Linked DNA regions of Homo sapiens: all the other regions are linked to region 3. The links are contacts of gene promoters, found by promoter capture Hi-C in blood cells and fetal thymus (Javierre and others, 2016). All regions are on one chromosome and are shown on one strand. The core of a region is centred on a gene start or on the middle of the fragment in contact, and the rest is flanking DNA. Distances in the headings are between cores, read along the strand shown. Region 1 overlaps GDPD4 (glycerophosphodiester phosphodiesterase domain containing 4). Region 2 overlaps GDPD4 (glycerophosphodiester phosphodiesterase domain containing 4). Region 3 holds the start of AQP11 (aquaporin 11).

Region 1 (4,715 bases), core at 902-3,401, 360 kb after region 3:
TTCAGGCAAAAATTAGTGTTGTTATAATAATTGACATTTATTGAATCCTTACAATGTGCTTGACATGCGTTATGTCATTTAACCCTTTGAATTGGCCACTGTTATCATCTTCATGAGGAAACTGAAGCTCAAAGATATCTTTGCATGTGGTTTCATGAGGCAGGATTCAGAATGAGGTCTGACTTCAGAGTTTTGTTACTGTAGCCCCACCTTTGTAGAGGCATGGCAACAATTGACAACGGCATGGAGAGTGGGGAGAAAACCAAGCGTACTTGACTCCAAAGTGGAAACTGTGTGCCCTAACAAATGGCTTTTGAAGAGGGTAGCCAGTGTCCAGTTGCATGTTCTAGGCCTTCTGTTGCTTACTGCCAGAAGCTTGAGAACCTGAAGACCTGGTTTACGATCCCAGCCAAATCCTATCACTATCTGTGGAGGGAGCCCTAGCTAACCAGTTACTGCTACAGAACTTGTTCTTATCTGTACAGAGAGTAGGTTGACTGAGTGGGACACAATAGCATACAACAGAAAACAGTTTAATTTCGCTGCATTGATTCTTTAAACCTGGTCTGTGATGTAGGCCTTTCTCTGCCCCTGAATGAAATCTCACTTAGGTCCTGTAGCTTTTCCAGTCACTGTTAGATAACTTTTAGAAGTTCACTTTTAGTCATCAAAAAGCCTCACTTCAGAATTAAGAGTCCAATCCCAAGTAATAACCCAAACTCCAAATGGCCTTGAAAGTTAAAGCCTTTGTCAGAGAAGCCTAAGAGGGAAGGGGCCTCAAGTCACCTCCTCCAGATCTCCACCCTCTGGCCTGAGCTTCTGACCTGTTCAGGGTCAGGACCAGGGGAAAAGGGATCCAGAGTCAAGGCACAGTCTTACAGGGCCAGTAACTGCATCTAGGCCCTCTGGTAGACAGGAGAAATCGCTGACTTCTTACTATGGTGGCTTGGTCAGCTTCCTGGAGATGACCCTGAAGGGAGCTTTGGATGGCAGGTCACTCAGCACAGGTGGAGCCTTTCCACCCACCTGTCCCCATATAACTCCCCTTCATGTATATACTATGTGTTTTTCTAACATTTTAAAATCCAGTCATTACAAAAATGCATAATTTAGAAAGCAGCACACCCCTCCATAATCCTATCCCCTGAATCAGTAATGTCTCAAAGTTGTCCCTTTGGGAGGTACACATTTACTTAAATGATGCTATTTCTGAATGCGTTTTTTTCATTTTAATATTTAAATGAATAAATCCATGTGATTCAAAAATCAAAAAGTTTAAAAGGATATATGTAAGAAAACCAATCTTCCTTCCACACCTAGTCTAGGCATTTTTAAAGGACCCAATGCATGGTTCCCAGCCTATGCCATGTGTCATTTTATTCAGGGAGGTGAGGCTGGTGTCCCAGAGGTCTTAACAGGAAGCCTACACTCCAGAGTTAGACTGATTGAGATTTAGATTCAGATCTTGGCTCCATTACTTACTGTGTGAATGTGGAAATACTAGTTAATGTGTTTGTGGTTTTTGGCTTTTTTGTTTCTTCTGTTTGAAAATTGGGGATAATAATAGTGCAGTAGAAACACTTGTGTCCAACATAATCTGGTCTGGTCATTGGTCTCGTAATTGAGAAAATTAAAGTGAGGAATCATTTAAAAATGATATACACTTTATCAGTTAGCTTTTAATGCTTAATAAAAACTACCTAAAACTTAGTGTCTTAAACAAATATTTATCATGTCTCAATTCTGGCTGATGGCTAGGTGGTGTCTCTGGTTTGAGCCAAGTCAGCTGGGCTGGATAGTCTAGGATGCCTTGTTCATTTGTCTAGAGGCGCACCTGGAATGACCAAGTTTCTCTTCGTGTCGTCGCTCATCCTCAAGGCAGCTAGCTGGAGTGTGTTCACCTAGTGGAGATGGGTTCCCAACAGCAAGAGAGAGCAAGCCCCAAAGCACATGGACTTTTCAAAGTTCTCACAGTGTTATGTTTGCTGATGTTCCATTGGCCAAGGAAAATCACCTGGCCAAATTCAGATTCAGGGTGGGAGAGAAACAGACTTCACCTCTTGATAGGGAGGCACAGCTAAGTCACGTTGTGTAGGGGCCTGCATATAGGTTTGGAAGGAATTTTGTGGTCATTTTTATAAACAGTATGCCACATACATACTTCACAAATTTTATTTTAAAATATTCATTCACCTTTTGACAGTCATTTCTTTGAGGATATTTCTGCTGATCGAGTTCTATGTTCTCTCATTTAAACATCCAGATGAACTAGCTAGGATTTCTAACTGTTTGTTTTAAGCAGAACAGGAACTTAAAGTCATTAGGACAATCAATCTGAATGAGCAATCTACCTAGATCTTTATAATCCCTCAAACCCTTGTAGTGTTTCACCTACACCTAATCTAATTGCTGTCTATTCTTTAATGATCTATTTTGTCCTCATTGAGTTTTTCAAAGCATTTGACTTAGTTTCTTTGAAAATGACATACTTTTTTCACTCAGATCTCACAAATTTAAGCAGCATCTAATTACATTGCACTATTACAATAACAAGTACAGTTGACTTAAGCCATTTGGGAAACAAGGATAACTGATTCTTTGTGAACATTCTGCTTATCTGGTAGGCCTCTTGGAGCAATCAGCCAACTACAGCAGCCCTCAGTCAATATTTTTCCCAGAGGGGATTAAGAGCCTCAGTTCAGTGGAAGTTGGTTAAGATTTTCTACTAGTAGGGCTATTATGAGGCTTAAATCTGTAAATACCCCTGAAGTGCTTAGAATACCTGCCTGGCTCCTGTTAATTGCTTATTGTTAATTATGATCATTAGTGTTATTAATTTTATTATTCAGCTCAAGGAAAGACCTTGGGATAGGGTGGAGAGTGGTCTGAGAAAGGATAAAATGTGCCAGCCCTATTAGCATCAAGTGGAATTAGAGAGGGCACAATTGAGGTGGAAAGGGAGCATCAAACTCAATGAGAGGACCCAGAAGACAGAGCTCTGGGAAATAGATGATTTGGGCAAGGAGCATAGAAGAGGAGCATGTAGGTAAGGGGTAATTGTACTTCAGCATTCTTAATTAAAGTGTGATACTTTAGAACAATGGTTCCCAAATGCTGGCTTACAGACACATGGCTTCAGCATCACCTGGGAATGTGTTAAAAATGCAGAGATTCTCATTCCTTAGGTGTCTAGTGAGACCCAGAAACCTGTATTACTAAAAGCTGCCCCGGGAGACTTGGCTGCACAGCCAGGTTTGAGAAGCCATGCCTTGAAAACAGCAGTAGAAGTCAAGAACCTGGACTGTGGTCTTGGGTCCAGAATAGACTTGTTGTGTGACTTCTCTGGGACCCCCTCTGCCCTCTGTCTTGGGAGATGAAAGGTGAGATGAAAGGTGTGAAGTGTTCTATTCCCTCTAGAGCCCCCTGCATGTATAAGGGTGACTGTTAGGACACTTGCAGGGACTGTCTGTGTTTGAGAATGCCACATCAATCAAGGTTCCTTGGCCTGTCTATCCCCTCTTCCTCTCCTCCTCCAGCCCTGGCAGCAGAGCAAGGGACTTAGACCGTATGATCCAAAATCCCTTCTAACTGTAAAGTTCTTTCACTGTGGTTTATGTTTTTCAGACACCAAAGTTCTATGTGTTCATGTGGCTCCTTGCAGATATCATTTCTGTGCTTTTTATTGTTGCCATATTTTGTTTTCACTGGTAAGTATATATATAATTTTAAATGAATTTTTTCCAAAATAAATGGATTATTATAGGAAATTGAGAAAAATAAGAGTTACGCTCTTCCCGTAATCCCACATGGCAAGATGGCGTTTATAATCTGAATCTCTCTTCTCATGTAGTCTGCAGTTCCTCACACCCCTTTGACCTCCCCCAAATAAGACAATATTTTCAGGATAGGGACTGTCACTAAAGCTTAGTCAAGCCTATTACTATGGATTCAATGTGGAGCAGTTGAAAGATGACAGGGCTTGAATATTGTCCAGAACAAGTGCCTCCACCTTCCCATCTTCCATGAAATGGCATAGCAGTGTGCAAAGAGCAAGTTCATAAACCAGGAAGACTGGGTTTTAGCTCTGGCTTTGTCCCTTAGTTGCTAGGTGACCCTGGGAAAACAACTGCTTCTTTCTGGGCCATAATATTTTTTTTGTTCGTTTTTTTGAGATGGGGTCTCAGTCTATTGCCCAGGCTGGAGTGCGGTGGCATGCAGTGGCATGATCTCGGCTCACTGCAGCCTCCACCTCCTGGGTTCAAGTGATTCTCCTGCCTCAGCCTCCCGAGTAGCTGGGATTACAGGTGCCTGCCACTGTGCCTGGCTAATTTTTTTTTTTTTTTTTTTTTTTTTTTTTGAGACGGAGTCTTGCTCTGTCACCCAGGCTGGAGTATAGTGTCACGATCTCGGCTCACTGCAACCTCCGCCTCCTGGGTTCAAGCGATTCTCCTGCCTCAGCCTCCCGAGTAGCTGGAACTACAGGCACCACCATGCCCAGCTAATTTTTTTTAAAAATATTTTTAGTAGAGGTGGGGTTTCACCATATTGGTCAGGCTGGTCTTGAACTCCTGACCTTGTGATCTGCCCGCCTCGGCCTCCCAAAGTGCCGGGATTACAGGGGTGAGCCACCCTGCCTGGCCCATGCCTGGCTAATTTTTGTATTTTTAGTAGAGATGGGGTTTCACCATGTTGGCCCCGCCTCAGGTGATCCGCCT
Region 2 (4,776 bases), core at 46-2,545, 300 kb after region 3:
TATATATCTGTTAGGTCCATTTGGTCTTTGTTTTCTTTCAGGCCATCCTCTCCTATCGTGTAAGATTTCTACTGAGAAATCCACTATTAGTCTGACTGGTTTCTCTTATGTGTGACTTGATGCTTTTCTCTTGCTGTTTTTGGAATTCTCTGTCTTTGGCTTTTGGCAGTTTGACTATAAAGTGCCTTGGAGAAGACCTTTTTCGGTTAAATCTATTTGGGGATCTTTGAGCTTCCACTATCTGGATGTCTGAACCCCTTGTAAGACTTGGGAAGTTTTCAGTGATTATTTTATTAAATTGGTTTTCGATGCTTTTCCCCACCTCTTCTTCTGGAATATCCAAAATTCGAGTACTTGGTCACTTTATGGTTTTCAAAAATGTCATGTAGGGTTTCTTTATTCTTTTCCCTCCCTCCTCCCTCCCTTCTCCCTCCCTCCTTTCCTTCCCCTCCCTCCCTCCCTTCCTTCCCTCCCTCCTTCTCTCTCTCTCTTTCCCTCCCCTCCCTCGCTCCCTCCTTCCTTCCCTGCCTGCCTGCCTTCCTTCTTTTTTGAGATGGAGTCTTGCTCTGTCACCCAGGCTGGAGTGCAGTGGTGCAATCTCAGCTCACTGCAACCTCCGCCTTCCAGGTTCAAACAATTCTTCTGCCTCAGCCTCGCAAGTAACTGTGATTATAGATGTGCACTACCATGCATGGCTAATTTTTTATATTTTTAGTAGAGACGGGGTTTCATCATGTTGGCCAGGCTGGTCTCGAACTCCTGACCTTAAATGATTCCCCCCACCCCCTGCCTCGGCCTCCCAGAGTGCTGGGATTACAGGCATAAGCCACTATGGCCAGCCGGCCTGCCTTCTCTCTCTCTTTCTCTCTCTGTCTCTTTCCGTCTTCCCTCCTTTTCCCCTCCCCTCCCCTCTTTTTTGAGATGGAGTATTGCTCTGTCACCTAGGCTGGAGTGCAGTGGTGCGATCTTGGCTCACTGCAACCTCCGCCTTCCAGGTTCAAGTGATTCTCCTGCCTCAGCCTCCCAAGTACTTGGGATTACAGATGTGCACTACCAAGCCCAGCTAATTTTTGTATTTTTTATTAGAGACGAGTTTTCATCATGTTGGCCAAGCTGGTCTCGAACTCCTGACCTCAAATGATCCATCCACCTTGGCCTCCCAAAGTGCTGGGTGTGAGCCACAGTGCCCAGCCAGGCTTCCTTCCTTCCACTTTTCCTTCTCTTTCTTTCTCTCTCCCGCTTCCCTCCCCTCCCCTCCCCTCCTTCTGTTTCTTTCACCTTACTGGGTTATTTCAAATGACTTGTCTTCAGGTTCTGAACTAATATCTCCTTATTGAATTATCTCATTCGGATTTTGAATTGTTTTTCTGATTTCTTTGTATTATTTATCTGTGTTCTCTTGTATCTCATTGAGTATATTTAATATTGTTATTTTAAATTATTTGTAGGCATTTCACACATTTCTTTTACATTGGAATCTCTTGCTGGATAATTATCACATTACTTCGAAGTTGTCATGTTTCCTTGCTTTTTCATGTTTTTTGTGTCCTTATGTTGATATCTGCACATCTGCTGTAACAGTTGCCTTTTCTAATTTTTTGGGTTGGCTTTCATAGGGGAAGATTTTTTTTTCTTGTAGATGTATCTGTAGAGTTGGTTGGGTGGGGCACTTTAGTTTTTATTCTGGGTTCATGCAGTAGTATAGTCTCCCTGGGATTTCTTTGGCTGTAATCAATATCAGTGGTGTCTATGATTTTGTCAGTGGTTTAGGCTCTGGTTGTTAGCACAGGCTGTGGTGAGACTTTGCTGGGAATGGGGAAATCAGGCAGGCCAATCCTCAGGCCCCAGTGGTGGTGGTGGCAGGCCGATTGTTCCTGTCCTTGGACCCCTGGCCAGTGTACACAGGCACTGGTGTTAGCAGGTCGAGGTGGGCCAATTTTTAGGTCTCTAGGTGGCTTGCTTGGGTACTGGCAGTGTTAGCAGTGTGCAGGGCAGGTGGGTGGGACCTGGAGCCCTGGGCAGCATGTGTGGTATCAGCGATGGCAGTAGTGTTAGGGGGCCAATCTTTGGTCTCCCAGGTAACATGCACTGGTGCTAGCAGTGACAGCAATAGGATGGGTGGGTCAGTCTATAGGTCCCCAGCTGGCATGTGTGGGTAGGCATTGGTGGTGGTAGTAGTGCCAGGTGATGTTGGCCTGTCCTCAGGCTCCTTGATGATGTACACAGGTGCAGGTTGTGGTAGGTGCCTGTGTTCTTAGTGCCATTGTGAAGCCACATGCTACATATTTTGTTCTATCTCTGAAATATTTTTTGTTGGCAAAGGAAAAATAAACTTGTCACATTTCAGCCATTGTTGTTTTGAAGATTCCATCATTCATAATTGAAGCTAACCCTAACTGATTCCATATGGGAGAGGAGAGAAAGGGAAGGAGCAGCCAGCTGTGTGTCTGAGTCACTTATTAGTCAACGATGGTATTTTCATGTACCTCACCCGTGCCTTTAACGTCTCAAGTTATTTCAACAGCATATTGCAATTTGAGAAGCACGTTTGCATATATTATCTAATTTGATTCTTTCAGCATTTATTAGTTGGTGAGGACAGGGAATATTGTCCCACTTTAGAGGTGAGAAAACTAAACCTAGAGTGATGCAGTGATCACAGTAAACACTCAACAAGTTAGTGGGAGGGAAAGGTAGGAAGAAACTCTATTCTTCTGCCCCAAATCCAGTATATTACCTTTGATTATAAACAGTTTTTTAAAAATCCATCTGTCTTTGATAAAATTTTCTGTAGAATGGTGGGATAAGGTACATTAAGGGGAGCGACACTAGATCCTGATTATTTTATTTGTCTTTCCAGCTAAAGGGTGAATCATGTTTAAGAAGGTCAACAGGATTGAGCACAAGAGGAATAAGACAGAAAAACCAAAAAAGCTTAATCCATGGATTCCACGCATCTTCAACCACAAATGCTTTGTCACCTTCCTTACTGGCTGCTATAGTTGCCTCTGGAAATTCAGACAATGGGAAAAAACTAAAGTTGGATTTTGTTGCTGCACTTGGGTACAGACTGATAAGGAGCTGGACCACATTTTCTCAGATGCGGGGAGCATAGGCTGACTGCTGGGCCCCATGAGGGCTCTTTATGGTCTCCAGGACTGGGGATGCTAGGGCTCCATTTCTTCCATAAAAGTATTGCACCAATGTTAAACTTACTGAAACATGTACTTGCTTTCTTCATTTTCTTTCCTTCACTTCATTTTTCACTTTTATTCTTTACTTTTCCTTACTACCTCTTTTATGTTTATTCATTAATTCACTTTTGCATTTATTCATTCAGTGAATCTTGAAGAAAAAGTGATGTTTGGGTGCAATTAGATATTTTTGGTTACGGATTACAGGGATGCCTGAATTGTAATTTGCTCTCCTCTGTGAATTTCTCTTCGCAGGAGAAAAAAACAGCAAGTGAGAAACAAGGTGCTCCTTTATTATTGGTCAAGCTAGTGGTGATTTTCCCTGAGGAAGAACTCTAGTAAGGCTGAGTGGTGGCACGTGGACTAGCCTTTTTTAGGGCCTCTATTTGTAAGCCATATGTTGGAACCCTTTGGTGAGCTACATGGTATAAGTGATTAAATGATCAGCACACTGAAATGAGAACAGAAGAGCAAAATCATGTACCTTTACTTATTTGTAAACATGGTCCAACTAGGGTCCCAGAATCAGACCAGTTGGGTCATTAATTTCTTATACCTGAGGTGGGGAACACAAGGAAAGGGGTAGGAAATGGGAGGTTTCCCTGCAGTAGGAAGGAATGTTCTTCTGTCCCCACTGTATCTTTCCTGCCCAGATATTCGGCCTCTATGCTAGTCACTGGGGATAATACAAGTGCTTCAGGCATGGTTCCTGCTCTCAAGGAATTCAGTCTACTGTGGGGAAAGATAAGTACACACACAATCTCAATATAGTGAGAGAAGTGCTGTAACTGTATGCGCATGTACACAGGCACATACCAAGGGGAGGGCCACCTTTTAGAAGGTGATGGGTGATTAAGAATTGGATAGGTAGAGAATTGGGGATGGTGGAAGAATTGGTATTGGAGGAGTAGTCAAAGGGCATAATGAGTTTGGAGACTGATACAAGGTTTATTTTAGATGAAGGAGAGGATATGAATGTGAAGAAGTGAGGGGAAAAGAAGCTAGAGAGGGAGATGGGTCCAATGTTGTGTGGTTTTAAGAATTTGACTTCTGCCATGTTGGGAATAAAGAATCCCCAAAGACTTTAAGCTGATGAAGTAGTCTGAGCTGTGTTTTGGAATGATTATTTGATTGTGTGGAGGACGTATTGAAAAGGACAAAACTAACACAGGGAGACTTCTTTGCCTTCAGAGAAAGCAGTACCTTCTCCATAATGATAACCTCCATTTTGGCTTTGAGCTTACACAGATCTGGGTTCTAGTCCTGCCCCTGCCACTTCTTAGCTGTGTGATCTTGAATCAATTATTTTACCTCTCTGAGCTTTCTTCTGCAAAAATGAGGTTGATGCCCAACTCATATGGCTCTAATGAGAAATAAATCAAATGAAAGTAGCTTGTGAAATTCCCTAGCATTTTACTAGAACAAAATAGCTACTTAAAAAAAATTATTCTTTAACTCTGATTCCCCCTTTCTTCTCCAATGGGGTAGATTGATGACTAAATGAACCAATTAATGATGAATGAATCAATAAATTAATTGCTGAACAAAACATTTGATAGCTGGAGAGGCAGATGAATTCAAC
Region 3 (4,962 bases), core at 91-2,590:
ATGGTTTAAAAGAAATCAACAGATTTCTCAAGAGTTATATTTTAAAAAGCATCTTTAATTTGAAGCAAGTTATCATTTAAACATTTTTCTTAATAGGTCACTTAAAAGTTCATGTATAACTCAAAATGAATTATTAAGGAAATAAGAAATTTCATAACTCAAAATGAATTATTAAGGAAATAAGAAATGACTTTAAATCATTTATAGGACTAAAATGGAACTACAAAATTTCTACCCTCCGCTCTTATACTAACCAATCATGTGCCTTGTGCTTTAAATCGAAAGGAACTTTGTAAAGCCAGGATCATTTTTCAGTAAGAGTATCCGAAACGATCTATACCACCTTGGCATGAAGAAAGAGGCAGTTAATAAGTTATCTTTCCTTTCTACCATTAAAACAATCCCTTTGTAGGATATCTGAACCCTTGGCAATATCTCACAGTATCTCAGTTTCAGCACAGAGGTGGCTCCTTTCTCTGGGTGTTCAAAGCAGCACTGCATGAAGGCTCTACGTGTCGGCCCTACTGGTTAAGAACGGGCTGCAAAATGGTTAGAATAACGGGGATACCAGCATTTACATCATAGCGGGATAGACGGTTTCAAATGTATTTTAGTAAAGAACTTACAGCCTCATGTCATAGAGGCTCTGGAAGTGCCAAGTATTTGGTGAGAATGACAAACCTGCATAGACCAAAAAGGTGATGAGTGCAGCCAGCAGGTGGATACGAAGCTTGGTTCGGACTTCCTGGAAGTGCAGCAGAGCGCTGTGGAAGAGAAAGGAGCAGACGGCCTCTGTGATGACCGCTTTGAGCAAGTCGACTCGGATGGGATTCTTGCAAGCGAAGCTCCTCTCGCTGACGTGATACTGGGTCAGACCCAAGCTCCACAAGGCGCTTGTGCAGTACCTGCTGCACAGGGCACTAACCAGCTGAGCCAATAGCCTCACCGCACCCGTCTCGGGGGACATGCCCCCCAGCATCATCTGCATCATCACGCCGCACGGGTTGCTGGACGTGCCCACCAGAGTCAGGCCATGCACAAGCGAGAAGAAGTAGACGAGCGTCAGCGTCCAGGTGGGGTGCGCGGGGTGCTGTTCGCTCAGCAGTTGCAGCTCGTGGGTGCAGCAGCAGAGCTGGAAGGTGGCTAGAAACTCCAGGACGAAGGCGTGGGCCACCGGCCTGTGCAGCTGCTGCCGGGCGACTACGCGGGCCAGCCCCATGAGCAGCACCACCGACAGCATCAGTCCCAGCGAGGTGCAGGTGTCCTGCAGCTCGGACCGGAGCCCCAGCAGCGGCGACATGGCTCCGTCGCCGCCTGAGCGGGTTGCGGGCTCCGGCTCTGGGTAGGAGGCGGTCTCCAGGCCCGAGTCCGAAGTCCGCAGCCCCTCCCCTCCTCACGCCCCTCGGGGCGGGACGAGCGGGAGGCTCCCGAGCGGCACACTTAAGAAGTCCTCCCCGCCTCCCCGGCTTGGCGCTGGGGTGTTGGAACCAGAGCCGAGGAGGCGGGGAGGCGGGGAGGCGGGGAGGCGCGGGGAGGCGCGGGGAGGCGAAGGGAGGTAGCCTAGGGCGCCGGCCGCAGGGCCAACGGTCAGCCGAGCCCACCGCGCACTCACCCTCCGCAGTCTCCCTCAGGGCCTTGTAGGCGGGCGCGGCGGCGGAGGGCCGGCGCGGCGCGGTCGACGCAGCGCTCTTGGTGCCCACTGCGCACGCGTGCTGCGGCCCTTGCGCCCCTGCGGGCGGTGACACCCGGACCACGGGGCGGAGAGGAGCGGCACGGCGCGGCGGAGCTCTGATGGTTGCTTTGCAGCGAGGACCTTAGAGTTTTTCTTTCCCCGCTCCACACTGTAAAACCGTGGAGCTGGAAAGACCGCTGAAGGCCATCTCACATAGCCACCTCGTTTTTATCAATGGGCGACTGAAATTGAGAGGGGAGACGCGGCGCAGGGGGCGGGTGAGTTAGTGGGCGTAGACCGGTGCGCAGGGCCTCCTGGAGCCTTGCTTTTCTTCACCTGCCAAAAAACATTTCTAAAAATGGTGGTAATATATGCCAGATAAAATTCGCCACTTTAATCAATTTAAGTGTATATTTCAGTGGCATCGATTACCCTCACAGTGTTGTTCAACAGTCACCTCTTTTTTCCAGAACTTGAGCGGTGATTCTTCAAAGTGTAGCCTAGTTTTAGCATGTGACTGTCTATAACCTTTGGCATGAACTCTTTACGTATAATATGAAACAGTTGTGTCTTACTGTTACATGCACTCTTCGTGAAGAGGAAACAACAGGTAACTGGAGAGGTCTGTTTCCAAGAACTGGGGGTCCTGGCGCACCTCTTCCATCTGCTTTGAAAGCAGGAATACGGCTGCGTGAGGTGGAGCGCGTCCGGAGTCCCAGCACGGAGAGGCTTAGGTGGGAAGACCGCTTGACCCCAGGAGTTCCAGGCTGCAGTGAGCTGAGATCGCGCCACTGCACCCCTGCCTGGGCCACAGAGCGAGACGCTGTTTTTAGAAACAAAAACAACAACAAAAACCGGGCGCGGCTGGGCGCGGTGGCTCACGCCTATAATCCCAGCACTTTGGGAGGCCGAGGCGGGCGGATCACCGGAGGTCGGGAGTTCGAGACTAGCCTGACCAACATGAGAAACCCCCGTCTCTACTAAAAATACAAAATTAGCCGGGCATGGTGGCGCATGCCTGTCATCCCAGCTACTCGGGAGGATGATGCAGGAGAATCGCTTGAACCCGGGAGGCAGAGGTTGTGGTGAGCCTAGATCGCGCCATTGTACTCCAGCCTGGGCAACAAGAGCGAAACTCCGTCTCAAAAACAACAACAACAACAACAACAACAACAACAAACCAGTCAAACAAACAAAAAACAAAACATGAAAGCCACTTAGTACAGTTCCCAATACGTAGAAAATATTCACTAAGTGGTAGCTTACAGTGGAAACAGCAGGTTTCAGCAGCCAGAGTGCACGGCTCTTGCCACCGCATTCCAGTCCCAACAGCTTGTCCCCTGGGGTGGCCCATTGTAGGTGCAGCACTTTGGGAGTCCGAGGCAGGCGGATAACGAGGTCAGGAGTTCAAGACCAGCCTGGCCAACATAGTGAAACCCCGTCTCTACTAGAAATACAAAAATTAGCTGGGCATGGTGGTGCGCACATGTAGTCCCAGCTACTCGGGAGGCTGAGGCAAGAGAATCCCTTGAACCCGGGAGGTGGAGGTTGCAGTGAGCCAAGACAGTGCCACTGCACTCCAGTTTGAGCAACAGAGTGAGACTTCGTCTAAAAAAAAAAAAAATTCTTTCACAAGACACAAACTAGTAGAAAATCAAGACCTTTTCTCTTTCCTGTGTTGATTGCCTGGCCAGAAAGAATTTAAATTAGAATTATTTATTATTATTATTTTTTTAAGACAGAGTCTCGCTCTGTCTCCCAGACTGGAGTGTAATGGCGTGATCTCAGCTCACTGCAACTTCTGCTCCCGGGTTCACGCCATTCTCCTGCCTCAGCCTCCCGAGTAGCTGGGACTACAGGCGCCTGCCACCACACCTGGCTTTTTTTTTTTTTTTTTTTTTTTTTTTTTTTTTTTTTTTGTATTTTTTAGCAGAGATGGCGTTTCACTGTGTTAGCCAGGATGATCTTGATCTCCTGACCTTGTGATCTGCCCGCCTCGGCCTCCCAAAGTGCTGGGATTACAGGCGTGAGCCACCGCGCCCGGCAATTAGAATTACTTTTAAGTCACTGCTGTTTAAAGAAGTTGCCTTTAAATCAATCCTATGAATGTAACCCTTTCAGTGCTCCCCTAGACTTGAAGTCACTTGAGGATTAATGTGAATGTATTTTATTTACTGCTCTGCTGATAATTCACTTTTACCCGGAAGAGTCATGTAGAAAACCAGTGTTTTGGACTTTGGTAAGAAATTTTAGTATCGTGGTAATACATATTGTCATTAAAAGGACTTTGGACATTTTTTAAATTAAAGAACAAGGGCAAAATTAACATAATTAATTACTACTGATTGGATATTTTGCATCAAATCAACCTTCCTATTTTCAGAAACAAGAAATCACCAATTAAAGTCTCTTGAGAGTGACATCATGGACGAAGACCTCTGTTAGCTTTGGTAAAACAGCAGTAAAAACAGTCCTTGCTCTTGAATAGCATAGAAGAGGGAACAGAAGAGAAAACAAAATTAAAATATAGTGTAAAAGTACAATGGTAAAAGAAGAAAGGCCTGGGCACAGGGAGGGGCCCCCACTCAGACTTAAGGAAAGGCTCCTTGGAGGAAGTGTCATCCTAGCTGAAACCTGAAGAATAAATAGGAGTTAAGGGGTAAAGAGAAGAGGGAGAAAGAAGAGAGGCAGAGGCACTGCATTTTGCAAACAGAGAAAGCCTAGAGGAGTCCCCGTGCTCTAGGCTGGAGTATGAAGGGGGAAGTAGCAAGAGATCAAGGTTAAAAGAAATAATGCCTGAAAAAGATTTAGTACATGGCCCAGCACATAGTAGTGCTTAATAAGGTTTAATATATAAAAATGGAGGTAAAATAGACGATAGTTCAATAATCATGGATTTTGCCCTGAAGCTTCAGACAAGACAAAGCGAAATGAAGAAAAAAAAAAACCCCTGCCAAAATTCAGAATTGCATTTCGTTAACATCTGCGAGGAGATAAAGCATTTAAGAGCTTCTGCACCAGGCGCGGTGGCTCACGCCTGTAATCCCAGCACTTTGGGAGGCCGAGGTGGGTGGATCACCTGAGGTCAGGAGTTTGAGACCAGCCTGGCCAACATGGTGAAACCCTGTCTCTACTAAAAATACAAAAATTAGCCAGGCGTGTTGGCACATGCCTGTAGTCCCAGCTACTCAGGAGGCTGAGGCAAGAGAATAGCTTGAACCCGGGAGGTGGAGGTTGCAGCGAGCCAAGATTATACCACTAAACTCCAGCCTGGGCAACATGGTGAGACT

Evidence for each region. The method cuts DNA at HindIII sites, captures the fragments that hold promoters and counts their contacts. A CHiCAGO score of 5 or more calls a contact.
Region 1: a contact is called between a fragment that was not itself captured here and the fragment with the promoter of AQP11 in region 3, in 1 of 17 cell types (M0 macrophages). The highest score is 5.4, in M0 macrophages.
Region 2: a contact is called between a fragment that was not itself captured here and the fragment with the promoter of AQP11 in region 3, in 1 of 17 cell types (M0 macrophages). The highest score is 5.3, in M0 macrophages.

Annotation. Positions count from the first base shown.
Region 1 is chr11:77,228,142-77,232,856 of GRCh38, reverse strand. GDPD4 (glycerophosphodiester phosphodiesterase domain containing 4) reads left to right here. Exons shown (of 17, transcript NM_182833.3): 15 at 3,625-3,707. Among named protein-coding and RNA genes, the nearest start is that of GDPD4, 71 kb to the left of the region's middle. The HindIII fragment of the contact is 3,548 bases long and covers 378-3,925 here.
Region 2 is chr11:77,285,505-77,290,280 of GRCh38, reverse strand. It overlaps GDPD4 (glycerophosphodiester phosphodiesterase domain containing 4), which reads left to right. Exons shown (of 17, transcript NM_182833.3): 2 at 2,861-3,063. Among named protein-coding and RNA genes, the nearest start is that of GDPD4, 14 kb to the left of the region's middle. The HindIII fragment of the contact is 3,283 bases long and covers 1-2,936 here.
Region 3 is chr11:77,586,331-77,591,292 of GRCh38, reverse strand. It overlaps AQP11 (aquaporin 11), which reads right to left and starts at 1,340. Exons shown (of 3, transcript NM_173039.3): 1 at 682-1,340. The coding sequence starts at 1,300. RefSeq lists a silencer at 1,364-1,993. The HindIII fragment of the contact is 3,851 bases long and covers 733-4,583 here.